7 separate regions of the Homo sapiens genome follow, and regions 1, 2, 3, 4, 5 and 6 are each linked to region 7. Evidence: promoter capture Hi-C in 16 types of primary human blood cells and fetal thymus (Javierre and others, 2016). All regions are on one chromosome and are shown on one strand. Each heading gives the region's core, a stretch centred on a gene start or on the middle of the fragment in contact. The rest is flanking DNA. Distances are from core to core; before and after follow the strand shown. Region 1 overlaps RRAGB (Ras related GTP binding B). Region 2 has its middle 68 kb from the start of RRAGB. Region 3 has its middle 150 kb from the start of RRAGB. Region 4 has its middle 200 kb from the start of RRAGB. Region 5 overlaps RRAGB (Ras related GTP binding B). Region 6 has its middle 17 kb from the start of NBDY. Region 7 holds the start of KLF8 (KLF transcription factor 8).

Region 1 (2,822 bases), core at 244-2,743, 480 kb after region 7:
CCATTTTCATCTGCACAATAAATCTATGATATAGATATTTGTAGAAGGAAAACAAGCCCCTAGAGATTAAGAATTGTTTCTAAAATCACCAAGCATTGGCAGGGCTCAGAAACAAATTATTTACTGGGAACTGCTCTTAGAGTTACATTTACCAAGGCTAATTAGCAATTACTTATGCAGTGTGTTGTGACACCTTAGTTTCTATTATTGCTATTTTTAAAATGTATTTACAAATACAATACTGGTTTTTGCATCCCCCTTTCAGGGTTATACAAACAATAGGCTCTAATATAGTTGCTAAGTTCAATTTACAAGAAAAATAAAAATACCAACATGCCTCTTTCCCTCTCCACTTCTTCATGTGAACTCCTATGTCACTGAGATGACCATAACATCTCTTCTACATTAAAAGTTTTCAATGAGTCTTTTAGAGAAAAGGATAGGATGTGAGTTTTCTCAAAAGGAAAATATCCCACATTTCATAATAAAAGTCCACAGGAAATAGGAATCCTTTAACATAAATGAACAGTTACTAGCATAAATAATCTGAACTCTCTTTTTTTTTGAGATGGAGTTTCGCTCTTGTTGCCCAGGCTGGAGTGCAATGGCATGATCTCAGCTCACCCCAACCTCCGCCTCCCGAGTTCAAGCGATTCTCCTGCCTCAGCCTCCCAAGTAGCTGGGATTATAGGCATGCGTCACCACACCTGGCTAATTTTGTATTTTTTGGTAGAGACGGGGTTTCTCCATGTTGGTCAGGCTGGTCTCTAACTCCCGACCTCAGGTGATCCACCCGCCTCGGCCTCCCAAAGTGCTGGGATTACAGGCGTGAGCCCCCATGCCCAGCCAACAATCTGAACTCTCTAATAATACATACCTGGAAAAATCTAAGTTTCACTAACTTCCAAAGAGCTACACACCAAAGGGCTTCTTTCAGGTCACTTGCTGACAATACTATTTTATAAATAAGTCTGTACATGCTAAAGTTGACAAGAGGGAAAAAGGTTCTTCCTGAAAGTAGTGACATGCTGTTCTCTGTTGCTGAAAACAAAGAACGTACAGTGTGAAGTACATCTGCAAAGCAGAAAGTTCTTACCAGAAAAGTAGCTCTCTCAAAAAGAAGTACTTCATCAGCTTCGATAATTTCAGCAAAATTCCTTAGGTTCATTTCCAGCTGCTGAACATTGGGAATCAGCTGATAAACTATGCTGGACCAAGCCTAACAGAACAGAAACACAGTGTACTATTATTAACAGCTAGTCAGTCCCAGACCTTTGAAATTAGTAAGTACACTATAATATGTGGACAGCAAAATATGATGATAATCCAGTCCCAAACAAATACTGACATTAAATATGATATAACACAAATGAAATGAGAAAATGAAGCTAGCATCTGATTTTTACCCTTGAGTTGAATTTTTTTTAAGTTCAAACACTTTTGTAAAATGCTGGAGAAACTTCTTTCCATTGATAATTGAAAGCAAACAAATATTTAATGCCATCATGTTGCCTTAGGAAAAAAGTTGAAAAATATGATCTACTTTGTTAAAAAGCTCCTAATCTAGTCACAAATATTTAAGTCCAACAGTGTAGATTTCTCTAAAGATCAGAACCTAATTATGCTATATTTAACATATACCTAAGAATCAATTTTATGAAAGTAGCAGAGCCACATAGACAAATGGCCCCTCCCCTCAATAGAATAATATACCATTAAAAGAGAAACTAGTGGCATTATCATTCCCAAAGGTTTGTTGTTATCCATATAAATTATTGATCCAATTGAATTCAAAATGGTCTACTGTGTTTTTGCCTAAAACTGACTTCATCCAGGAGTATGACTAATGTAAGCAGTTGAAATTAACCACACTCTCCCTCTATTCTTGTAGGCTCTTTTATTTGTATTTTCATTATAATACTTCCTTCACTCTCACTCCAATTTGTCTGGTAAGGTGTACTTTGTTCTTCTCTCCCCTACAAGAGGGCAGGAACCTGGTCTTAGTCATTTGTGTATCCAACAGCATCAAGCAGGTATGTAAAGAGTGCTTGTTGAATAAAACTTAATATAAAAATTTAAGTTAGCTCTATGCAACATTGATGTAAGAGACAGAAGTGCCATGTCTCTGTTCCAATTAGTTTTATTACTTAGGCATGAGGGTTCAGGTTCCAAGTTCCCAGGTCGGTGTTAATGTCACTGCTGAATTTACCTTGGAGAAGGCACCAAAGCTAACCACAGCAGAGACATTGTCACTCACAGCAGTGTTGTGATTAGCCAATTGTCTTTGGTCGTGTTATGTATTGCCATCCTTCACACCGCAGTTGGTTCTTATCAGTGCGTCATGTCCATCCTTATTCACGGTTACCTGTTCTATGGGAATAAGGCTTTGAGAGAAATTCGGCCCATATTAATCTAGAACAGTATTTCCTAGACAGGTATCTCAAAATGATCTGTTATTAGAGTGAGGCTGGGTCAACATAATATTGGGGAAAATGAATTAGTTAAAAAAAAAAAAAGCAATGGCTATTTAAAAGTCCAATGGTTTTTCTCCTTGCCACATCAGGTTTCTGTGCTTCTGGTTGTAGATACTTGTCAGATGCTGTTGATACTGAGGCTGTAGCTACCAGTGACAGAGAAGGGTGCTTTCCTACCCAGAGTCAGACTTGTCAATGGATACCAGAAGCAGTCTGAAGGGAAGGGCTAACTACAGAAGGATCCAAAAGGACCTAGTCCTTCAAATAACTAGATCAGTAGGAGAAAGGGAGGAATCAGAATAAGGAGCCTATGTGCCAATAAGGTAATTTCAGCTTCATCCATAACAA
Region 2 (2,700 bases), core at 44-2,543, 450 kb after region 7:
TTTGTGGGGTTTGCTCATTCATTAAACAAGTATTTACTGAGTCCTTTACTGTATGTCAGATTTTGTTCCAGATGCTGTGCATACAGTGGTGAACAAGGTCCCTGCCCTCATGTGGACCTACAATTCTAGTGAGAGCCAACAGAAAATTATCAAATAAATAAAATAATAATTTCAAGTAATGATAAGTTTTATAAAGAAATTAAAACAGGATACTATGTTAGAGCATAACAGGGGGTGAGATAGTAGTAGTTATGATGAGGTGTTCATGGAGAAGATATCTGATGTGGTAATGTGAACAGGGACTTGAATAATGAGAATGAACAAGTCATGGGAAGAACATTACAAGTAGGAACAGTTAGAACAAAGATCCTAAAGTAAGAATAAGCTTGATATGTTAAAATTAGCAAGGCCAGTTATGGAAGGAGCAGAATGAATTGAGAAGAAAATGGTAAGAGATGATGTTGAAGAAGTAGATAGAAGCCAGATCACATAAAATCTTTTTTTTTAAATTTTATAATTATTATACTTTAAGTTTTAGGGTACATGTGCACAATGTGCAGGTTAGTTACATATGTATACATGTGCCATGCTGGTGTGCTGCACCCATTAACTCGTCATTTAGCATTAGGTATATCTCCTAATGCTTCCCTCCCCCCTCCCCCCACCCCACAACAGTCCCCAGAGTGTGATGTTCCCCCTCCTGTGTCCATGTGTTCTCATTGTTCAATTCCCACCTATGAGTGAGAATATGCGGTGTTTGGTTTTTTGTTCTTGCTATAGTTTACTGAGAATGATGATTTCCAATTTCATCCATGTCCCTACAAAGGACATGAACTCATCATTTTTTATGGCTGCATAGTATTCCATGGTGTATATGTGCCACATTTTCTTAATCCAGTCTATCATTGTTGGACATTTGGGTTGGTTCCAAGTCTTTGCTATTGTGAATAGTGCCACAATCAACATACGTGTGCATGTGTCTTTATAGCAGCAAGATTTACAGTTCTTTGGGTATATACCCAGTAATGGGATGGCTGGGTCAAATGGTATTTCTAGTTCTAGATCCCTGAGGAATCGCCACATTGACTTCCACAAGGGTTGAACTAGTTTCCAGTCCCACCAACAGTGTAAAAGTGTTCCTATTTCTCCACATCCTCTCCAGCACCTGTTGTTTCCTGACTTTTTAATGATCGCCATTCTAACTGGTGTGAGATGCTATCTCATTGTGGTTTTGATTTGCATTTCTCTGATGGCCAGTGATGGTGAGCATTTTTTCATGTGTTTTTTGGCTGCATAAATGTCTTCTTTTGAGAAGTGTCTGTTTATATCCTTTGCCCACTTTTTGATGGGGTTTTTTTTTCTTGTAAATTTGTTTGAGTTCATTGTAGATTCTGGATATTAGCCCTTTGTCAGATGAGTAGGTTGTGAAAATTTTCTCCCATTTGTAGGTTGCCTGTTCACTCTGATGGTAGTTTCTTTTGCTGTGCAGAAACTCTTTAATTAGATCCCATTTGTCAATTATGGCTTTTGTTGCCATTGCTTTTGGTGTTTCAGACATGAAGTCCTTTCCCATGCCTATCTACAACTATCTGATCTTTGACAAACCTGAGAAAAACAAGCAATGGGGAAAGGATTCCCTATTTAATAAATGGTGCTGGGAAAACTGGCTAGCCATATGTAGAAAGCTGAAACTGGATCTCTTCCTTACACCTTATACAAAAATTAATTCAAGATGGATTAAAGACTTAAACGTTAGACCTAAAACCATAAAAACCCTAGAAGAAAACCTAGGCATTACCATTCAGGACACATAAGATCTTGTAGGCCATGGTCAGGAGACTGCTTGGTGTAAGGGAAAAACATCTGTGGATTTGAGAAGTAGTATCAAGACGTGGTTAAGTACACAGGCTCCAGTATAAATTTCTTAGATTCAAATTCCATCTCTGCCATTTTATTGGCTACCAAATAAAAGAGGCTTAGTCTCTGTGATGGTTAATATTAGGTGTCAACTTGATTGGATTGAGGGATGCCTAGATGGTTGGTAAGGCATTGTTTCTGGGTGTGTCTGTGAGGGTGTTGCCAGAGATCAACATTTAAGTCGTGGGACTGGGAGAGGAAGACCCTCAATGTAAGTGGGCACCACGCAATCAGCTGCCGGCATGGCTAGAACAAAGCAGGTGGAAGAAGGTGGGATAAGCTTGCTTGGTGCGTTTTCTGGCTTCCCGTGCTGGACGCTTGCTTCTGTTCCTCCTGCCTTTGGACATTAGACTCCAGGTTCTTCAGCCTTTGTACTGTGGGAATTGCACCAATGGCTTGCAGGTGTCTCTCAGACCTTCGGCTGCAGACTGAAGGCTACAATGTTGGCTTCCCTGGCTTTGAGGCTTTTTTACTCAGACTGAGCCACTACTGGCTTCTTTCTTCCCCCACTTGCAGGTGGCCTATTGTGGACTTTACCTTGTAATCATGTGAACCAATTCTCCCTAATAACCTCCCTTTCATATACATATACATCCTATTTGGCTCTGTCACTCTGGAACCCTGAATATAGCCTCTTCGTATCTCATATAGAAATAGAGGATAATAGTAGCATCAACAGCAAAGGTTTCCTGGGGCAGATTAGATGACACAGTCCAGATAAAGTGCTTAAGCAAATGCCTGGCAGAGTGAATGCTCAATAAGTATTAACTACTATTTTAAGCA
Region 3 (2,811 bases), core at 285-2,784, 360 kb after region 7:
CCTCAGAGGGAAAGCTTTCAGTTTTTCCTCATTCATTAAGATGCTAACTGTGGGCTTTTTATAAATATCCTTTATTATGCTCAGGTAAGTTTCTTCTATACCTACTTTGTTTACAGTTTTCTATTATAAATAGATGTTGAACCCAGTCAAATGCTTTTTCTGTGTCTATTGAGATTATTACATGGCTTTTGGTTTATATTATGTTACATTACATTGATTGATTTGCATATACTGAACTCGCCTTGCTTCTCTGGGAAAACTTTACTTATTTATGTTGTATAATCTTTTTCATGTACTTTTGAATTAAGTTAGCTAGTCTTTTATTGAGAACTGTTCTATCTATATTCATCACAGATATTGGCTTCTAGATTTGTTTTCTGTGGTGTCTTTGTCTGGCTTTCACATGAAAGTGATGCTAGCCTTATAAAATTAGTTTTGAAGCGTTTCCTCTTCTTTTTTTTTTAAGGCTTTAAGTAGCTTTGGTATTAATTATTTTTTTGAGTATTTGGTAGAATTTACCCATGAAACCATCTGGTCCTGTGCTTTTTTTGGTTAGGCAGTATTTTATTAACATTTCAATCTCTTTACTTGTTATTTGTCTGCTTAGGCTTTATATCTATTCATTATTTCAGTCTTGGTGGGTTTCCTGTTTCTAGGAATGTATCCACTTATTTTATCAAATTTGTTGGCATATAATTGTACATAATACATTCTTATGATCCTTGTTATTTCTAAGGCCTCTGTTTTAATGCCTTCTCTTTACCATCGATTTTATTTATCTGAGACTTCTCTTTTTTCTTAAACTAGCTGAGGGATTGTTAATTTTATCTTTTCAGAAAACTACATCTTGGCCACGCCTATAATCCCAACATTTTGGGAGGCTGAGGCGGGCAGATCATGAGGTCAGGAATTCGAGACCAGCCTGGCCAACATGGTAAAACCCTGTCTCTACTAAAAATACAAAAATTAGCTGGGCGTGGTGGCAGGCCCCTGTAATCTCAGCTACTTGGGAGGCTGAGGCAGAAGAATTGCTTGAACCTGGGAGGCAGAGGCTACAGTGAGCCGAGATCTCACCACTGCCCTCCAGACTGGGTGACAGAGCAAGACTCAGTCTCGGGGGAAAAAACTAGACCTTGATTTTGTTGATTTTTTTCAATTTGTTTTATTTCTGCTCTGATTTTTATTATTCATTTCCTTTCTGCTAAGTTTGGGGCTTAGTCTTCATTTCTTTTTCTAGTTTCTTGATGTGTAACATTAGATTGTTTATTTGAGATCTCTCTTGCCTTTTAATGTAGGCATTTATTGCTACAAATTTTCCTCTTAATACTGCTTTTGCTACATTCCACATGGTTTTGGTATGTAGTAATTTTGTTTTCATTTGTCTTGAGACACTCTTTTAATTTCCTTTTGATTTCCTCTTTGACTGAATGGTTTTTCAAATCTTGTTAATTTTTACGTATTTATGAATTTTCTCATTTTCTTACTGTTCCTGATTTTGAATTTGATTCCACTGTGGTCAGAAAAGTTACTTGGTATAATTTCAAACTTACCCATTTTGTTAAGACTTGTTTCATTGCCCAATGTGTTATCTATCCTGAAGAATGTTTTATGTGTGCTGAGAACAATGTATATTCTTCTGCTGTTGGGTGGAGAGTTTTGTCTGATAGGTCCATTTGGTCTGTAGTGTTATTCAAGTCTACAGTTTCTTAATTTATTTTCTGTTTGGATGCTTTATGCATTATTGAAAACGGAGTTTTGAAGTTTTCTACTAGTATTGTCTTGCAGTCAGTTTCTTCTTTCATATATGTCAATATTTGCTTCAAATATTTAATTGCTATAATGGTGGGTGCATATGTATTTAAAATTATGTCTTCTTATTGAATTGACTCTTATGTCATTATACAATTACTGTCTTTGTTTCTAAAAAGTTTTTAAAGTCTATTTTGTTTGATATATGTATAGCCTCTCTTGCTTTCCTTTGCATAGAATATCTTTTTCCAACTCTTTACTTTTAATTCATTCAGCCATTGTATATCTTTTGATTAGAGAGTGTAATCCATTTACATTTACATTGATTAGAAAAGACTTATTGTTGCTATTTGTTCATTGTTTTCTGTTTGTCTTATAGTTCATGTGTCTCTTTTCTTCTCTTTTGCTGTCTTTATTATTATTATTATTATTGTGTCGATAGGTTTTGTTTTTTATTTTTGCATATGTAACTTCTGTAAGTATTTTCTTTATGATCAACATGGAGCTTACATAAAATATCTTGTAGTTTTACAATGGTCTATTTCACACTGATAACAACTTAGCTTCACTTGTGTAGAGGAACTCTACATGTTTACCTCTCTTTACCCCACATTATTACGTGTCAAGAATGTCACAATTTAGATTCATTTATATTGTGTAACCATTAACATAATTTACTTATAACTATTTTTAATAGTTTTGTCTTTTGACTTTTATAATTGAATTAAGCGTGATTTACCCACTACTTTTATAGTAATACAGTATTCCCTCTATTTGTCTATGTATTTACCTTTACCAGCAAGTTTTATACTTTCTTATGCTCTCACATTTCTGTTTAGTATCTTTTTGTTTTAACTTGAAGAATTCACTTTAGCATTTCTTGCAAGGCAGGTCTAGTGGTACTAAACTCCTTCAACTTTTGTTTGAGAAAGTCTTTGTCTCTCTTTCCTTTGTGAAAGACATATTTGCCAATTGTAGTATTATTGCCTGGCAGGTTTTTTTTTTCTTTTTTTCCTTTTAGCACTTTGAATCTATCAACCCACCTACTCCTTCTGGCCTGCA
Region 4 (2,968 bases), core at 153-2,652, 310 kb after region 7:
TGTTATTCCCCACCCCCCACCCATGTGTCCAGGTGTTTTCATCATTCAGCTCCCACTTATAAGTGATAACATGTGGTATTTGATTTTCTTTTTCTGTGTTAACTCGCTGAGGATAATGGCTTCCAACTCCATCCATGTCCCTGCAAAGGACGTGATCTTATCTCTTTTTATAGCTGCATAGTATTCCATGGTGTATATGTACCACATTTTCTTTATCCAGTCTATCATTGATGGGCATTTGGGTTGATTCCATGTCTTTGCTATTGTGAATAGTGCTGCAATGAACATATGCATACATATATCTTTATAAAATAATGATTTCTATTTCTCTGGGTATATACTCAGTAATGGGATTGCTAAGTCAAATAGTATTTCTGCCTCTACATCTTTGAGGAATCGCCACACTGTCTTCCACAATGGTTGAACTAATTTCCACTCCCACCAACAGTGCAAAAGAGTTTCATTTTCTCTAAAATCTCACCAGCATCTGTTGTTTCTGGACTTTTTAATAATAGGCATCCTGACTGGTGTGAGATGGTATCTCACTGTGGTTTCGATTTCCATTTCTCTAATGATCAGAGTGATATTGAGCTTTTTTTCATATGTTTGTTGGCCACATGTATATCCTCTTTTGAGAAGTGTCTATTCATGGCCTTTGCCCATTTTTTAATGGGATTTTTTCTTTCTTTCGATTTTATTTTAAGTTCCAGGATATGTGTGCAGGACGTGCAGGTTTGTTACATAGGTAAAAGTGTTCCATAGTGGTTTGCTGCACCTATCAACCCATCACATAGGTATTAAGCCCCACATGCATTAGCTATTTATCTTGATGCTCTCCCTCCCCCTGCTGTCCCCCTGACAGGTCCCAGCGTGTGTTGTTCCCCTCCCTGTATCCATGCATTTTCATTGTTCACCTCCCATTATAAGTGAGAACACGCAGTGTTTGGTTTTCCGTTCCTGTGTTAGTTTGCTGAGGATAATGGCTTCCAGCTCCATCCATGTCCTACAAAGGACAAGATCTCATTCCTTTTTATGGCTGCATAGTATTCCATTGTGTAATGTAGCATATTTCTTTATCCAGTCTATCACTGATGGATATTTCGGTTGATTCCATGTCTTTGCTATTGTGAATAGTGCTGCAATGAACATACGTATGCATGTATTTTTACAATACAGTGATTTATATTTCTTTGGGTATATACCCAGTAATGGGATTGCTGAGTCAAATGGTATTTCTGCTGCTAGGTCTTTGAGGAATTGCCACACTGTCTTCCACAATGGTTGAACTAATTTACATTCCCACCAACAGTGTAAAAGCATTCCTATTTCTCCACAGCTTTGCCAGCATCTGTTGTTTCTTGACTTTTTAATAATCATCATTCTGACTGGCATGAGATGTTATCTCATTGTGATTTTGATTTGTATTTCTCCAATGATGAATGATGTTGAGTTTGTTTTTGATATGTATGTTGGCCACATAAATGTCTTCTTTTGAGAAGTGTCTATTCATGTCCTTTACCCACTTTATAATGGGGTTTTTTTATTCTTGTACATTTGTTTAAATTCCTTATAGATTCTGGATATTAGAACCTTGTCTGAAGGATAGATTGCAAAAATTTTCTCCTATTCTGTAGGTTGTCTCTTCACTCTGATGAGAGTTTCTTTTGCTGTACAGAAGCTCTTTAGTTTAATTAGATCCCATTTGTCAATTTTTGCTTTCGTAGCATTGCTTTTGATGTTTTTGTCATGAAATCTTTGCCCATGCCTATGCCCTGAATGGTATTGCCTAGATTTTCTTCTAGAGTTTTTATAATTTTGGGTTTTAGAACAAAGCTGGAGGCATCATGCTACCTGACTGCAAACAATACTACAGCCGATAGTAACCAAAACAGCATGGTACCCATACAAAAACAGATACATAGATCAATGGAACATAATAGAGATCTCAGAAATAAGGTCACACATCTACAACCATCTTATCTTCGACAAACCTGGCAAAAACAAGCAACTGGGAAAGGATTCCCTATTAAATTAATGATGCTGGGAAAACTGGCTAGCCACATGCAGAAAATTAAAACTGGACCCCTTCCTTACACCTGATACAAAAATTGACTCAAGATGAATTAATGGGATTTTTTCTTATAAATTTAAGTTCCTTGTATATGCTGAATATTAGACCTTTGTCAGATGCATAGTTTGAAAGTATTTTCTCCAGTTCTGTAGGTTGTCTGTTCATTCTGATTATAGTTACTTTTTCTGTGCAGAAGCTCTTTAATTAGATCCCATTTCTCAATTTTTGCTTTTGTTGCAATTGCTTTTGGCGGCTTCATCATGAAATGGTTGCCTGTGTCTATGTTCTGAACGGTATTGCCTTGATTCTCTTCTACTAGGAATTTTATAGTTTGGGGTTTTACTTTTAAGTTTAGATGTCTAGCATGGCCGAGTAAGTTTTCTTTGATTATTCCCTCAAATATGTTTTTCAAACTTTTATATTTCTCTTCATCATCAGGAACACCAATTATTCTTAGGTTTGGATATTTAACATAGTCCCAAACTTCTTGGAGGCTTTGTTCATTTTTTAAAATTCTTTTTTCTTTGTCTTTGATGGACTGGGTTAATTCAAAAGTCTTGTCTTCGAGCTCTGAAGTTCTTTCTGCTTGTTTGATTTTATTGCTGAGATTTTCCACTGCATTTTGCATTTCTCTAAGTGTGTCCTTGATTTCCAGAAGCTGTGATTGTTTTTTATTTATGCTATGTATTTCACTGAAGAATTTTCCTTTCCTATCCTGTATCATGTTTTTGATTTACTTAAGTTGGACTTCACCTTTTTCTATTGCCTCCTTGATTAGCTTAATGACAGACATTCTGAATTCTTTTTCTCGCAGTTCAAAGATTTCGTCATGGTTTGGATCCATTGCTGGTGAGCTGGCAGGATATTTTGGGTATGTTAAAGATCCTTGTTTTGTCA
Region 5 (2,844 bases), core at 78-2,577, 500 kb after region 7:
TCCACCCAGATGAGAAGGAACCAGAAAAATGATTCTGGCAACATGCAAAAACAGAGTTCTACAACACCCCCAAAAAGATCACACTAACTCTCCAGTGATGGATCCAAATCAAAATGAAATCTTTGAAATATCAGATAAAGAATTCAAAATGTTAATTATTAGGTTGCTAAATGATATCCAAGAGAAAGTTAGAAACCAACATAAAGAAATAACTGGACCAAGTAGAAGAAGAATTTCAGAGCTTGAAGACAAGGCTTTCAAATTAACACAATCAGATAAAAATTTTAAAAAAGGAATTAAAAGAAATGAACAAAGTCTCCAGTAAATATGGGTTTAGGTATAAAACATCCAAATCTAAGAATCACAGGTGTTCCTGAGGGAGAAGAAAAAGCAAAAAGCTTGGAAAACCCATTTGAGGAAATATTTGAGGAAAACTTTCCTGGTCTTGCTAGAAATTTAGACATCCAAATACAAGAAGCTCAAAGAACTCCTAGGAGATTCATTATAAAAAAAGACATTACCAAGTCATCAGGCTATCTAAAGTCAACATGAAGGAAAGAATTCTAAGAAGAGTGAGACAAAAGCATTGGATAACTTACAAAGGAAAACCTATCAGACTAATAGCAGACTTCTCAGCAGAAACCTTACAAGCCAAAAGGGATTGAGTCCTATCTTTAGTCTCCTCAAACGGAATAACTGTCAGCCAAGAATTCTGTATCTATCAAAACTAAATTGCATATGTGAAAGAGAAATGAAGTCTCTCCCAGACAAGCAAATGCTGATGGAATTTGTCTCCACCAGACCAGACCTATAAGAAATGCAAAAGGAGTTCTAAATATCTAAATGAAAGGTCATATGCACCAGTATAAAAACACTTGAAGGCAAAAAATTCACAGGACTTATAAAACTGTAACACATTGAAGAAAACCAAGCAACTAGGTAGCAGCATGATGACTGCAACAGTACATCACATGTCAATATTAACATTGAATGTAAATGGTCTAAATGTGCCACTTAAAAGATAATAGATGGACAGAATGGAAAAAAACACAAACCAAATATCTGCTGTCTTCAAGAGACCCAGTTAACTTGTAAAGATTCTTATAGACTTAAGGCAGATGGGTAGGAAGAATATTCCATGTTAATGGAAACCAAAAGTGAGTGGGAATAACTATTCTTAGATAAAACAGACTTTAAATCAACAACAGTAAAAAAGACAAAAAATGTCATTATATAATGATAAAGAAATCAATTCAACAAGAAGATATAACAACCCAAAATTTATGCACACCTAACTCCAGAGCTCCCAGATTCATAAAAACAGAAACTACTAGACCTAAGAAAAAGAGATAGAAAGCAATACAATTATAGTGGAGGACTACAACACGCCATGGACAGCACTGGATAGATCATTGTGGCGGAAAGTCAACAAACACTGGACTTAAACTGGACTCTAGAAAAAGTGGATTTAACAGACATTTACAGAACATTCTACCCAAAAACTGCAGAATATACATTCTTGTTGTCAGCACGTGGAACTTTTTCAAGATAGACTATATATCAGGCCACAAAAGAAGTCTTAATAAATTTTAAAAAATCAAAATCATATCAAGTATCAAATCAGCCCAAAGCAGAATAAAACCAGAAATCAATTCCAAGAGGAATTCTCAAAACCATACAAATATATGGAAATTAAATAGTCTATTCTTCAATGATCTTTGGGTCAAAAATAAAATCAAGATGGAAAAATTTTTTGAAATGAATTAAAATACTGACACAAGTTATCAAAATCTCTGGGATATAGCAAAAGCAGTGCTAAGATCAAAGTTTATTGCACTAAATGCCTACATCAAAAGGACAAAAAGATCACAAATTTACAACCTAACATCACACCTCAAGGAACTGGAGAAACAAGAACAAGCCAAACCCAAAGCTAGCAGAAGAAAAGAAATAAGAAATAACAAAGATTAGAGTAGAACTCAAGAAAATTGAAAATAAATTAAAAAAATACAATGGTCAATGAAACAAAAAGTTGGTTCTTTGAAAAGATAAACTAAATTAATAAACCACTAGCTAGATAAAGCAAGAAAAGAAGATTCCAATAAGCTCTATCAGAAATGAAAATGGAAACATCATACTGATAAACACAGAAATACAAAGGATGACTGAGACTACTATGAACACTTCTATGCACTCAAAGTACAAAATCTAAAGGAAATGGATAAATTCTTGGAAATATACAACCACACAAGCTTCAATCAGGAAAAGAAATAGAAATCCTGAACAGAGCACTAACAATTAGTGAGACGTAATCAGTAATAAAAAAAAAAAAAAACCCAGCCGGGCACGGTGGCTCAAGCCTGTAATCCCAGCACTTTGGGAGGCCGAGGCAGGCGGATCATGAGGTCAGGAGATTGAGACCATCCTGGCTAACATGGTGAAACCCCGTCTCTACTAAAAATACAAAAAATTAGCTGGGTGTGGTGGCGGGCACCTGTGGTCCCAGCTACTCGGGAGGCTGAGGCAGGAGAATGGCGTGAACCTGGGAGGCAGAGCTTGCAGTGAGACGAGACCACGCCACTGCACTCCAGCCTGGGTGAAAGAGCGAGACTCCGTCTCAAAAAAAAAAAAGAAACAAAAACTCAAAATTTCCCAACCAAAAAAAAAAACCCCAGGACCAGATAGATTCATAGCCAAGTTCTATGAGACAGTCAAAGAACTGATGCCAATCCAACTGAAACTGTCCCAAAAGATTGAGAATGAGGGAATCCTCCTTAACTCATTCTACAAAGCCAGTGTCATCCTAATACCAAAGCCACGAAAGGACATAAAAAAAGAAAGCTA
Region 6 (2,902 bases), core at 21-2,520, 480 kb before region 7:
TCTGAAGGCTAGATTGGTGGCAGATCCTCCTCCAAGCTCACTCATATGATTATTTCAAGGCTTGATCTCTTGCCACTTGGACCCTTCTACAAGGTTGCTGGAAGCTCTAGCTTTTCCCAAGGTTGGTGATTAGAGAGAGAATGTCAGAGTTCTAATGATTAAAGCTACAGTCTTTTTACAACTTAATTTTTAGAAGTGATATCCCATTACTTACAGCATATTCTATTAATCAGAAGTTAATCACTAGGTCAAACCTACACCCAGAGAGAGGAGTTTGCACATGGTCATGAATAGCTGAAAGTGGAGTTCATTGAAGGCCAGATCACAAACATCTGTTTGTGTCTACCACAAACAGAAACACACATTTTTTGAAAAGGAAAAAACAACAGACTGTCCAATACTGGAAAGTATGCAACCAATAAGTTGTCAAATAAATGCAAAATTTTTAATTTGCAAATCATAATTGTATATATTTATGGAATACCTGTGATGTTTTGATACATGTGTACAATGTGGAATGATTAAATGAAGCTAATTAACATATTAGTCATTTTATTTACCTATCATTTTTATGGGGAGACATTTAAAATGTACTCTTTTAGTTATTTTAAAATGTATTTATTATCATTGACTATAGTCACCCAACTGTGCAATTGATCTAAAAACTTATTCCTCTCTTCTATCTGAAACTTTTTACCCTTTGACCAACAACTCCCCAATTCTTTTCTCCACCCCACCCACCGTCATTCTACTCTCTACTTTTATGAGTTCAATGAACATTTCTTACAATTAAAAATTAAAAATAAATGTGAATTTAAAAAATGTAGACACTATTTTCACCAACTAATTTAGGAAAAAGACACACAATGCTACTGACAATGCAGAAAAGTGGTACTATAATATATTGTAATTTTTAGTTTATATATGTACAACACTTTTAGAAAGCATATTAAAAGTAGGTGTAAAGTATTTATTTCTTTACCAAGTAATTCCAAATTTCAGAATCTGTCTTTAGGAAAGAAATTTAAGATTTCCAAAAATTTTAACACAAAAATATTTACCACAGTATTACTTTTAATGGTAAAAAATTGGAAAAAAATGTTAAATAAGGGAGGGGCCAAGATGGCTACTTAGAAGCAGCTGCAGTTCATGGCACTTACAGAAAGGAAAAAAAAGGGGCAAGTGAATTCAGCACCTTCAACTGAAATATCCAGGCTCTCACATTGGGACTGACAAGGCAAACAACTCTACCCACGGAGAAGAAAAGCAGGGTGGGGTGATGGCCCACCCAGAAGTGGCACAAAGCCAAAGCAATCCCCACCCCCAGCCAAAAGATGCAGTAAGTAATTGTGCGACTCAACCTGGGAAACCACACTTCTCCCACAAATCTTTGCACCCCACAGATAAGGTGATACACTTATAAGCCCATGCCACCAGGGCCTTGGGGTGCAATAAGTGTGTGTGTAGTCTCAGCAGAGCTGCGTTGAGTCTCAGCAGAGCAGTCACTCAGGCACACACAGAAACCCAGTTATTTTACTTACTCTGGCCCCAGAATCCCTGGCAAGGTGGGAAATCTGTTTGTACATATTCCTAGGAAGGGGGCCAAATCCAGGGAGCCAAATGACATTATTCTGTTGACCCCACTTCCATGGCACCTCACAACTTAAGATCCACTGGCTTGGAATTCCAGCCAGCCAATAGCAACAGACAGGACTCTGCTTGAGATGGGTCCAAGTTCCCAGGGGGAGAGGTGGCTGCCATTTCTGTGGTTTGGTAGACTCAGACATTACAACCTGATGGCTTTGGAGAATACAGATGGTCTAGAAAAGGAAGGTTCCCCCACAATCCAGCAAAGCTGTCTTGCCAGATCATGGCCAGACTGCTTCTTTAAGTGAGACCCCAATTCATTATTTCTTTCTGGGCAGGACTTCCCTGCAGAGGCTTCAGCTACTCCAGCCAGGGTTCTATAGATAGAGCTCTGATCTCTCCCTGAAATGGAGCTCCCAGGAAGAGGGTCAGCCACCATCTCTGCAGTTCAGTCAACACAGCCATTCCAGTTTGCTAGTTTTGGAGAATCCAAACAGTCAGGACAAGGAAGAATTCCCCCTAATGAAGCACACTTGCTCTACCAAAAAGCAGCCCAATTGCTTATTTATTTTTTTACTTATTTTTATTTCCATAGGTTTTGGGAGAACAGGTGGTATTCGGTTACATGGGTGAGTTCTTTAGTGGTAATTTCTGAGATTTTGTGTACCCATCACCTGAGAAGTATACACTGAACTCAATTTGTAGTCTTTTATCTCTCACCCTGCTCCCACTCTTTCACCTGAGTCCCCAAAGTCCATTGTATAGTTCTTATGACTTTGTGTCCTCATAGCTTAGCTCCCACTTATGAGTGAGAACATATAATGTTTGTTTTTTTATTTCTGAGTTACTTCACTTAGAATAATAGCCTCCAGTTCCATCCAGGTTGCTGTGAATGCCATGCATGTTTATGGTTGAGTAGTATTTCATCATATGTATAAATATACCACAATTTTGTTATGCACTCATTGATTGATGGGCATTTGGACTGGTTCCACATTTTTGCAATTGCAAATTGTGCTGCCATAAATATGCATGTGCAAGTATCTTTCTCATATAATGACTTCTTTTCCTCTGGGTAGATACATAGTAGTGGGATTGCTGGATCAAATGGGAGTTTTATTATTAGTTCTTTAAGGACTCTCCACACTGTTTTCCATAGTGGTTATGCTAGTTTACATTCCCACCAAAAGACTGCTTCTTTAAGTGGGTCCCTGATCCTGTTACTCCTTACTGGGTGAGACCTCCAAACAGGGGCCTCCAGCCATTTTCCTGGTTGTTGGGCCAGCAACAGGTCAGTATACCCCAGGGATGGAGC
Region 7 (2,864 bases), core at 19-2,518:
CAGGGGAGACTAGACTAGACAAATCCATCCATTCTTGCCCCCTTTCACTTCTTCCACCAAGCTCTCTCCTCTCCTTCTTGGCCTTTCTTTGCCCAGCCCTTTAGCAAAGTCATTTTCCCTTGAGTTTCATTTGATTCCACATAGTGTTCTTAACCTTCCGCTCCCGCCCCCACTGCTGAAACCCCAAGTGGGGTGTGTGGGGGGAGCAGGGGGACTGGGAGGGGGATAGAATCTAGACGAAAGAGGTGGGAGTGGGTGGGTATTAGTCCCAGAGTCACTTACCGACCATGTCACTAGCTGAGGACTCCTGAAGTGTCCAGAACTCATGCCGTCCTCCGGGAGGCTCATACTCCTGAGCTGATCGCAAGAGAGCTGTTCCCCTCACACCCGCCCCATTCTGACATAGCGCAGGGCGACGCGTTCTCGTCTTCTCGTTCTTGGGCCCCCACTCCCCTATTTCTCCGGGCTGGAAAATGAGGAGGGGGTCGAAAGGGGAGGGAGTCGATTCAGACCCAGCTGGGCCACTCTCGGAACAAGGGAAACAAAGCTCTCAAGCATCCAACCCAAAAATCAGGGGCCGGCAGAGTAGACTTCCTAAAAAGAATCCTCCCCCCTGCAGCTTTTCCTTGGACAAAAATAAAGTGGGTTCGCTGGGCCGAAGTGGCCAGAGCTTAAGGTCCTCCGTTCCCCTTTTACCTCTACCAATTCAGTTCCGGCCAAGCCCGCTCTCCACCCATCCTCTGAACTCCACACACCCTTTAAAAGGAGAGGGCCGGGGGTGGGGGCTATGAAAACCAACCCAACCCCCAAAGCGCTACTTGAACATAAAGTTGAGGCGGAGAAGAAATCCTTCAAGACAGGAACCCACGAGGAGATACCACAAGAGGATCCCTTCACCGCCGCCGTTGCCGCCGCACACCCCAGCGCCTTCCTAAAAAGAAAGAAGGGAGGAAAAAAATGCCGACGATTGGTAGAATCATAGAGAAGAACACCAGCCCCAGGGCAGGGGCTTCAGCGAAAAATGGCAGCAACTCGTGCGGGTCCTCTGGGGCGGGGTTTCTTGGAGGCACCTAGCTGCCCCACGGGGTACCTCGCGCCCCACGCGAGTCAGAACCTAAAGTGCTCTCTGGGCAACCTGAGTGGGTAGAGTGATTCCGTCTTTCTCTGGCCCTGCTAGGCCCAAAGGAGAGGTGTGACTATCGTGAGGACTCCACCTAGGGTGGAGTTCCTTAAAAAGGACAGGCGGCCGCTAGAGGAGAGTGCAAAGTGGGAGGAGGTGGAGAAGGGTGGGGCTGAGAAGGAGGAGGGAGGAAGGAGGGGGTGGGGCGGGGCCCTGGGCCGACAGAGCTGGCCTCGCCTCCGGCGGCCGCCTCCCTCAGCCTCCAGCAGCGGCAGGTATAATTCCAATCAATTTCACTTCCTTATCTGTCCCAAAATTAAGGCTTGCAAGCACACTGCTTGATTACCTATTTACTCCGGTTATGCTAATTCTCCAGGGGAGGGTGGTGAAACGGGTACTGGGATTGGGGCTGGGGGCTGTCTAAGAGGGAAAGGAGAAAACAAAAAAGCTGACAACTGGAAGCGATATTTATCCTCCTACCTCTCCATGGTAACACGAACAAGGACAGCGAGGTCACAGTGTCTTCTCAGGGAGGAAGCTAAAAGGAACGGAGATTGGAGCTTGGTGCATTTTCTAGCAAGAGATAAGCCAAGGAGGTGAGGGCGAAGGAGTAGGTGGGGAAGAAGAAGGAGTTGAAGATGATCTGTGAATACAGCGTGGCCCAGCAGGGAGACTTAAGAAAGGCTTTCTCAGTCTCCCAGATACCAGACCTCTAAGAATAGAGTTCTCAACCCCCTGAGACCGCCTCTCAGCCAGGCATTGGCGAAGATCCCCGTAAAGCTGAATCCACAGGATAGGAGCCATGTTTCCAGGATTTCTTTACGCTTGCCTGAAAGTCTCTCTCTAGCTCATTTTAATGGGAGGCCAGGAAGTCACAAGCAACCACAGCCCATTTTCAGTGCCTCTTCCCTACCACAATTCTTTTAAAGAGGAGGAAAAAGAAGAGAGACAAGAAACAAAGCAGAGGGAGGAAGAGCAAAGAGACAGGAGAAATAATAATATCTGCCATGTATTCAGCACCTAATATGGGCAAGTCCCTGAGCCAGGTGCTTTTACATTCAACATTTCCCCATTTAGTCCCAATAACAACCCTGGGAACTAGGTACTGTTATATTCTCTGTGCCCTTTATTTAAAAAAATAAGGAAACGGAAGGCCTCAGCCCAGTACTTTCGAACACATAGGTCTACTTACTTAGTTGATATTTCTGCCTGAATGTCTTCTGTGCATCTCATCTACCTTCCTTTCCCCAAAACACTCTGTTCTTCCTCCTGTAGTTCACCAACTACCTGAATGGCACCACCATACATCCAAGGCAGCACCCTGGAACTCATCCTTTAACCTGCTGTGATCTGGCCTTTGTCTGCCTCTCAAGCAGCAGAGATTTTGCTGTTCTCCTGGGCTTTACCTGGATTACAAATCCCTGGGAATTCCAAGCTGTTTCCAATCTCTATGCCTTGGGTTGCTTTACTTTCTCTGACTGAAATAGACTAAGCTCTCTGTCCACCTTTTTTTTTCTTGCATGTCCTTCCAATGAATCTGTCCACTTTCTTGAAAGGACTAACTCAAGGTCATCTCCCCTCCTTACTTAATTTCTTCAGGCAAAACTGACCATTGCTTCCTCTGTGCCCTTCTCTACCTCGGGGCACATATTTGTTGGTATAATTGCCTCCCCCTACTAAACTATAAAGTCCTTGAGCTGAAGCACCAGGCGATCTCATTTCTGTAACTTGGATGCCAAGTTAT

What was found. The method cuts DNA at HindIII sites, captures the fragments that hold promoters and counts their contacts. A CHiCAGO score of 5 or more calls a contact.
Region 1: a contact is called between a fragment that was not itself captured here and the fragment with the promoter of KLF8 in region 7, in 6 of 17 cell types (total B cells, naive B cells, M2 macrophages and 3 more). The highest score is 12.3, in total B cells.
Region 2: a contact is called between a fragment that was not itself captured here and the fragment with the promoter of KLF8 in region 7, in 1 of 17 cell types (naive B cells). The highest score is 6.3, in naive B cells.
Region 3: a contact is called between a fragment that was not itself captured here and the fragment with the promoter of KLF8 in region 7, in 1 of 17 cell types (total B cells). The highest score is 6.6, in total B cells.
Region 4: a contact is called between a fragment that was not itself captured here and the fragment with the promoter of KLF8 in region 7, in 2 of 17 cell types (total B cells and naive B cells). The highest score is 11.0, in total B cells.
Region 5: a fragment that was not itself captured here is called in contact with the fragment with the promoter of KLF8 in region 7 in 2 of 17 cell types (naive B cells and total B cells); the score reaches 6.9 in naive B cells.
Region 6: a contact is called between a fragment that was not itself captured here and the fragment with the promoter of KLF8 in region 7, in 1 of 17 cell types (naive CD8 T cells). The highest score is 5.1, in naive CD8 T cells.

The regions. Positions count from the first base shown.
Region 1 is chrX:55,751,789-55,754,610 of GRCh38, reverse strand. RRAGB (Ras related GTP binding B) reads right to left here. Exons shown (of 10, transcript NM_006064.5): 7 at 1,097-1,219. Among named protein-coding and RNA genes, the nearest start is that of RRAGB, 35 kb to the right of the region's middle. The HindIII fragment of the contact is 4,544 bases long and covers 1-2,822 here.
Region 2 is chrX:55,784,038-55,786,737 of GRCh38, reverse strand. No RefSeq gene overlaps it. Among named protein-coding and RNA genes, the nearest start is that of RRAGB, 68 kb to the right of the region's middle. The HindIII fragment of the contact is 1,812 bases long and covers 388-2,199 here.
Region 3 is chrX:55,870,024-55,872,834 of GRCh38, reverse strand. No RefSeq gene overlaps it. Among named protein-coding and RNA genes, the nearest start is that of RRAGB, 150 kb to the right of the region's middle. The HindIII fragment of the contact is 3,036 bases long and covers 17-2,811 here.
Region 4 is chrX:55,920,349-55,923,316 of GRCh38, reverse strand. It overlaps a transcript of KLF8 not described here. Among named protein-coding and RNA genes, the nearest start is that of RRAGB, 200 kb to the right of the region's middle. The HindIII fragment of the contact is 9,872 bases long and covers 1-2,968 here.
Region 5 is chrX:55,733,757-55,736,600 of GRCh38, reverse strand. The region is part of intron 5 of RRAGB (Ras related GTP binding B); the gene reads right to left. Among named protein-coding and RNA genes, the nearest start is that of RRAGB, 17 kb to the right of the region's middle. The HindIII fragment of the contact is 1,854 bases long and covers 401-2,254 here.
Region 6 is chrX:56,710,888-56,713,789 of GRCh38, reverse strand. No RefSeq gene overlaps it. Among named protein-coding and RNA genes, the nearest start is that of NBDY, 17 kb to the left of the region's middle. The HindIII fragment of the contact is 5,674 bases long and covers 1-2,902 here.
Region 7 is chrX:56,230,760-56,233,623 of GRCh38, reverse strand. It overlaps KLF8 (KLF transcription factor 8), which reads right to left and starts at 1,268. Exons shown (of 6, transcript NM_007250.5): 1 at 283-1,268. The coding sequence starts at 289. The HindIII fragment of the contact is 3,283 bases long and covers 1-2,864 here.